Regions from separate parts of the Homo sapiens genome. Here region 2 is linked to region 1. The links are contacts of gene promoters, found by promoter capture Hi-C in blood cells and fetal thymus (Javierre and others, 2016). All regions are on one chromosome and are shown on one strand. Each heading gives the region's core, a stretch centred on a gene start or on the middle of the fragment in contact. The rest is flanking DNA. Distances are from core to core; before and after follow the strand shown.

What was found. Contacts are between HindIII fragments. The CHiCAGO score rates a contact against its expected background, and 5 or more counts as called.
Region 2: a fragment that was not itself captured here is called in contact with the fragment with the promoter of BNIP1 in region 1 in 5 of 17 cell types (naive CD4 T cells, naive CD8 T cells, total CD8 T cells and 2 more); the score reaches 7.8 in naive CD4 T cells.

The regions. Positions count from the first base shown.
Region 1 is chr5:173,142,717-173,145,856 of GRCh38, reverse strand. It overlaps BNIP1 (BCL2 interacting protein 1), which reads right to left and starts at 1,326. Exons shown (of 6, transcript NM_001205.3): 1 at 1,228-1,326. The coding sequence starts at 1,311. RefSeq lists enhancers at 594-663, 605-1,133. The HindIII fragment of the contact is 7,780 bases long and covers 1-3,140 here.
Region 2 is chr5:173,058,367-173,061,422 of GRCh38, reverse strand. The region is part of intron 1 of CREBRF (CREB3 regulatory factor); the gene reads right to left. Among named protein-coding and RNA genes, the nearest start is that of CREBRF, 3.5 kb to the right of the region's middle. The HindIII fragment of the contact is 233 bases long and covers 1,255-1,487 here.

The DNA.
Region 1 (3,140 bases), core at 77-2,576:
TTATTCTGCATCTAATTTGGTTTATTCTGCATCTGGTTTATCTGGGGAGCCCTATTTTCCTGCACTTTTTGCCACACCTTGTTACAAACTCTGAGTCTACATCTAATGTTTAGTGACTTTGTTGAAAATGATTATTTTTAAAAACCAAGGTTTAGGCCGGGCGCGGTGGCTCACGCCTGTAATCCCAGCAATTTGGGAGGCCGAGGCGGGCGGATCACGAGGTCAGGAGATCGAGACCATCCTGGCTAACACGGTGAAACCCCGTCTCTACTAAGCAAAACACAAAAATTAGCCGGGCGTGGTGGCGGGTGCCTGTAGTCCCAGCTACTCAGGAGGCTGAGGCAGGAGAATGGCGGGAACCCGGGAGGCGGAGCTTGCCGCGAGTCGAGATCGCGCCACTGCACTCCAGCCTGGGCGACAGAGCGAGACTCCGTCTCAAAAAAACAAAAACAAACAAGCAAAAACAAGGTTTAAAACTCGGTTTCTTTTTGCTGAACTCATGGAACCGTGTCTACACTCCCAATTCTTGCCTAAGTCCACTCGTTTATTTTACCTCTACCCTTAAATGGCTTAAGGCGAAACACTTCATTTCCTATCTGTTCAAACGGGGTAACACTCTAAGGTGTTATTCCTAGGTTGACTTTCACAGTCCAGGTCCCAGTTTTGCCACTGACCCAGGTATGCCTTCTAACCTAGGCCTTGGCGCCGTACTCGATTTCCTCAAGCATAAAATCACAACTACGGTCCAGGTTACATTCGTTTCACCCGGTGCCTCCCGTGCCAGGTGGCCTTGGATGCCAGGAGAGCTGGCCAGCAGGGGGCGGGGCTAGCTGCCTCCCGGACGCTACCAGAGGATGCTGAAGCAGCGTCAGAGGGCGGGGCCAAGCAGGGTGACAGGTAGGTTGTGAGGTAGTCAGGGGCGGGGCGACGACCAGGGCTGCAGGTGGAAGGGGCAAAGCCGAGCCCCGAAGCAGTAGCTGAGTCAGGGGCGGAGAACAGTGGGGTGCTCTGGGGATGGGAGATCCGGCGGCACCCGGAAAAAGGATCAAGGCCAGCAGTCACCGGGACACAACCAAATGGGGACCGGGGGGGTAGCCGACCATGGGGCGGAGCCTGTGGTCTGGGAAACCAAGTGGGGAAAGTTCGGGAGTGACACTGCCAAGCTCACAGACCAGCAGAGCTTGGGTTAGGGCTGCTGGAGCCCGGCAGGGGTCCCGGGATCAGTACCTGAATAAGCGCCTTCACCTCCAGGTCAAATTTGACAATCTCTTGGTTACAGATCCGGACGTGGACGTCTTGGGGAGCCGCCATGTTGGGGACGCCGGCTACGGGCAGCGGCAGGACCCAAGTTCAAACGCGTTTTCGCACCACCTTCTTTCCCTCCCCACCCAGTCTCGGGGCAGCGCCCCCTAGAGACCGGCGAAAATGGCAAGCGAGGGTCACTGCGCAGAGTTGGGACTTTCCCTGACACGTGTAGGGAAATCAGCCTCTCCTCTTGGTATGGCCCTAATAACATGGAGAGGAAGGGAAGAGGGAATATCAAGAACGCTTCACAGTGGTCTCTTTCCATCTTCCTTCTGTCAGGCATTCTAATAACTATATATTTTTTACATAGAAAAAAAAAGACTGGAAGAAAAGTATCAATTGAGATGTCTCTGGAAAGTACCAGTAATAATTTTTTGTTTCTTCAAACTTTCTTATATTTTTAATATTTTCTACAGTGAGTATAAATTGTGGAGTAAAAGAGGAAATGATAAACGTCATATATTTTTTAAAGTATGGAGTTCAAGGCAGGTCGGTAGAGTACCTCCTATCACTCCAACACATGATCTAAGGGATCTTTGTAAAACACGAAATTGATCAAGTCACCTACCTGTATGCAGCCCTTCTATGGCTTCTCGTGTTTCCCTTTTGTATACAACTGGATTTATTAAATCTACCTTGCTAAGGTAGTTTTGATGGAAATGTCAGAGCAAACCCTCAACAAATGGTGGCTCTTTTATTTTTGTTAGTAAATAATCCAAGTTTCTTAGCTGGTCCTCAAGGCCATCAGCCACCCCGGCCATCAGCCACCGCACCCTGCGCCCTTCCTGGATTGCTCAAGCTCCTTCTGGATGTGTAGCCTTAGAATGTGGTGTTCCCTCTCCCTAGAAAGCGTTTCCCCCACTCGACCCCACTCCATCTGCATTTGTTCGGGTCACTTCAGCAAGCATAGATTGTGAGGACCTAAAGGCTTAGGACTTGAATGTTCATCTCTCTCTCTTTTTTTTTTTTTTTTTTTGTGGCGGAGTCTCGCTCTGTTGCCCAGGCTGGAGTGCAATGGCACAATCTTGGCTCACTGCAAACTCTACCTCCCAGGTTCAAGCAATTCTCCTGCCTCAGCCTCCTGAGTAGCTGGGATTACAGGTGCGTGCCACCATGCCCAGCTAATTTTTGTATTTTTCATAGACACGGGGTTCACCATATTGGTCAGGTTGGTCTCGAACTGACCTCGTGATCCACCCGCCTCGGCCTCCCAAAGTGCTGGGATTACAGGCGTGAGCCACTGTGCCCGACCATGTTCATCTCTCTTAATCCTCACAACCACCCTTGAAATTGTACTACACTATTATCACAGATCAGGAGTAGGGCTTAGAGTAAATTAAAACAAAAAACAATCAACCCTGTTGCAAGATTACCTATCTTGAAAGTGGCAAAGCCTAGGCCGGGCACGGTGGCTCATGCCTGTAATCCCAGCACTTTGGGAGGCCGAGGCGGGTGGATCACGAGGTCAAGAGATCGAGATCATCCTGGCTAACACGGTGAAACCCCGTCTCTACTAAAAATATAAAAATTAGCCGGGCGTGGTGGCGGACGCCTGTAGTCCCCGCTACTTGGGAGGCTGAGGCAGGAGAATGATGTGAACCCAGGAGGTGGAGCTTGCAGTGAGCCGAGATCGCCCCACTGTACTACTCCAGCCTGGGCGACAGAGCAAGACTCCATCTCAAAAAAAAAAAAAAAAAAAGAAAAAAGAAAGAAAGAAAGTGGCACAGCCTCTACTGAAAGCCATCTTTTCCCCAAAAAATCAATATGGTCCCCACCTGTTGTAAGCGGGGCTATGTGCTTGTCTGTGTCCCTACAGCCCTCTACACACCCTCTCG
Region 2 (3,056 bases), core at 122-2,621, 84 kb after region 1:
GAAAAATACAAAATACAATGTTGCCATATGCTCTTGTACTAAAAATTCTCTTCAAGGCAGGAGACTGTACAATCTGCAAATGCTCAAATGTACCTAAAGTGTCTATTTGTATATTCTGAAATACCTTAACATCTAAGTACTTAAAACTCAGTGACTGGGCCAGATGTGGTGGTTCACGCCTGTAATCCCAGCACGTTGGGAGGCTGAGGCGGGCAGATCAGGAGGTCAGGAGATTGAGACCAGCCTGGCCAACACAGTGAAACCCCGTCTCTACTAAAAATACAAAACTTGGCTGGGCACGGTGGCAGGCGCCTGTAATCCCAGCTACTCAGAAGGCTGAGGCAGGAGAATCGCTTAAACCCGGGAGGCGGAGGTTGCAGTGAGCCGAGATCGTGCCACTGCACTCCAGCAGGGGGGACAGAACTAGACTCTGTCTCAAAAAACGAACAAACAAAAAACCTCAATGACTGATGTCTTACAACAGGGGCTGACAAACTATAGCCGTGGAAGCACAAATAGAGGCACAGCCTGACCTTGTAAATAAAGTTTTATTGGAATAGAGCCCAAAAATATGTAGAACATATTTTCTACAGCTGTTTCCATGCTACAGATTCAAAGTTGAGTAGTTGTGGCAGAGACTGGAAGGCTGAAAAAGCCTAAATATTAACTATTTGATCCTGTTCCAAAAAAAAAAAAAAAGTCTGTCAACCCTTGTCTTAAAATAATCAGAACCAATTATCTGACAAATTTATGTCTCGTCTAAGAGTTTACCTATCCCGAAATGAGCTACTGAATATGGTGAAAGTGTCAGTGAATTGTTCCTCAAAAAAATCCAAGTTCAACCCTACTTGGAAACAAGCGACTGCTAATTCATTTCAAAATCACATAACTAGAGGGGGCACGGTGGCTCATACCTGTAATCCCAGCTCTTTGGGAGGCCAATGCGGGCGGATCATTTAAGATTAGGAGTTCAAGACCAGCCTGGCCAACTTGGTGAAACCTTGTCTCTACTGAAAATACAAAAATTAGCTGAGCATAGCGGTGCACGCCTGTAATCCTAGCTACTCGGGAGGCTGGGGCAGGATAATCGCTTGAACCCAGGAAACGGAGGTTGCAGTGCGCCAGGATCACGCCACCGGACTCCAACCTGGGCAACGCAGTTAGACTCCGTCTCAAAAAAAAAAAAAAACATATATATATATATGTATTTTTTAAATAAATATATAGATGCCGATCTTGACTGAAAATTAAGCTTTAAAAGCAAACAGTGATTTCAGTTCTCTTTATCTTTTAAAAACTGAGTTATATTAACAGAATCAACACACAAACTTACTGTACTTCACTGTCACTTGTATTTAACCACCACCAGGAACCATGCTAGTTATTCCTTTACTTCTTACACTAGTATCCCAGAACCCACACACATCCACCCTGTAAACTAAGTAGACACCCTGTAAACTAAGTAGAACATTGTCTATATAAAAGCTTGCTTTCACCTGCCATGACAGAGAATGATGGTAAATGGAGCATCCAGACTCTCTTCGGGAGCTATTTAGCCTCTTCTATGCTTATGAATATAAAAAACCCAAAGCTGATATACCAGTCATATGAAGGAATTATACCCAAATAAGTTCTATTGCATCTATTTGCCATTCTTAGAATAAGAGAGCATTATATAAGCAATGCTGATTGACTTTATCAACCGATGCAACAGTGAAAACTGCCTGGAATATTCTAAGTATCAATGAAAAGTGTTTATTTTTATTTTCACTATACTTCTCTGTTAAACTAATTAGGGCATTGTAAGGGCTAGGGTTCCAAAAGCAACACAATGCCACCTGATAAAATAAGAATTGATAGGCCAGGCGCGGTGGCTCACGCCTGTAATCCCAGCACTTTGGGAGGCCAAGGCAGGCAGATCACCTTAGGTCAGGAGTTCAAGACCAGTCTGGCCAACATGGTGAAACCCCGTCTCTACTAAAAATACAAAATTAGCCGGGCGTGGTGGTGGGCGCCTGTAATCCCAGCTACTCAGGAGGCTCAGGCAGGAGAATTGCTTGAACCCGGGAGGCGGAGATTGCAGTGAGCCGAGATCTTCCCACTGCACTCCAGCCTGGGCGACAAGGGCGAAACTCCGTCTCAAAAAAAAAAAAAAAAGAAAAAAAAGAAAAAGAAGAACTGATAAATAAGCTAATACCCTTATTTACTGCAAAAGTTATACGTAAGAATTCAAGTTTATCAAATAATCAGGGATTACGTTTTTATGTATCATTATTAACAGAACTGAGTCAGTCATGCCAAAGTACTACAAAAATTGATGAATCAGGCCGGGCGCAGTAGCTCACACCTGTAATCCCAGAACTTTGGAAGCTGAGGTGGGTGGATCACCTAAAGCCAGAAGTTCGAGACCAGCCTGACCAGCACGTGGTGAAACCCCGTCTCTATTAAAAACACAAAAAATTAGCCAGGCATGGTGGCACGCGCCTGTAGTCGCAGCTACTCGGGAGGCTGAGGCAGGAGAATTGCTAGAACCCGGCAGGCGGAGGTTGCAGTGAGCCGAGATCGTGCCATTGCACTCCAGCCTGGGCGACAGACGGAGACTCCGTCTTAAAAAAAAAAAAAAAAAAAAAAAAAAAGAGGCTGGGCGCGGTGGCTCACGCCTGTAATCCCAGCACTTTGGGAGGCCGAGGGGGGCGGATCACGAAGTCAGGAGATCGAGACCGTCCTGGCTAACATGGTGAAACCCCGTCTCTACTAAAAATACAAAAAAAATTAGCCGGGCGTGATGGCGGGCGCCTGTAGTCCCAGCTACTCCGGAGGCTGAGGCAGGAGAATGGCGTGAACCCGGGAGGCGGAGCTTGCAGTGAGTCGAGATCTGGCCACTGCTCTCCAGCCTGGGCGACAGAGCGAGACTCCGTCTCAAATTAAAAAAAAAAAAAAAATTGATGAATCAGTTACCAATTATTCTTTTTCTCCAACTAATAAAATAGAAGATAATGCAAATTCTTAATACAGCTAACTCTGATTAGCCCCTGCATGATCTATCTAAGGCATGT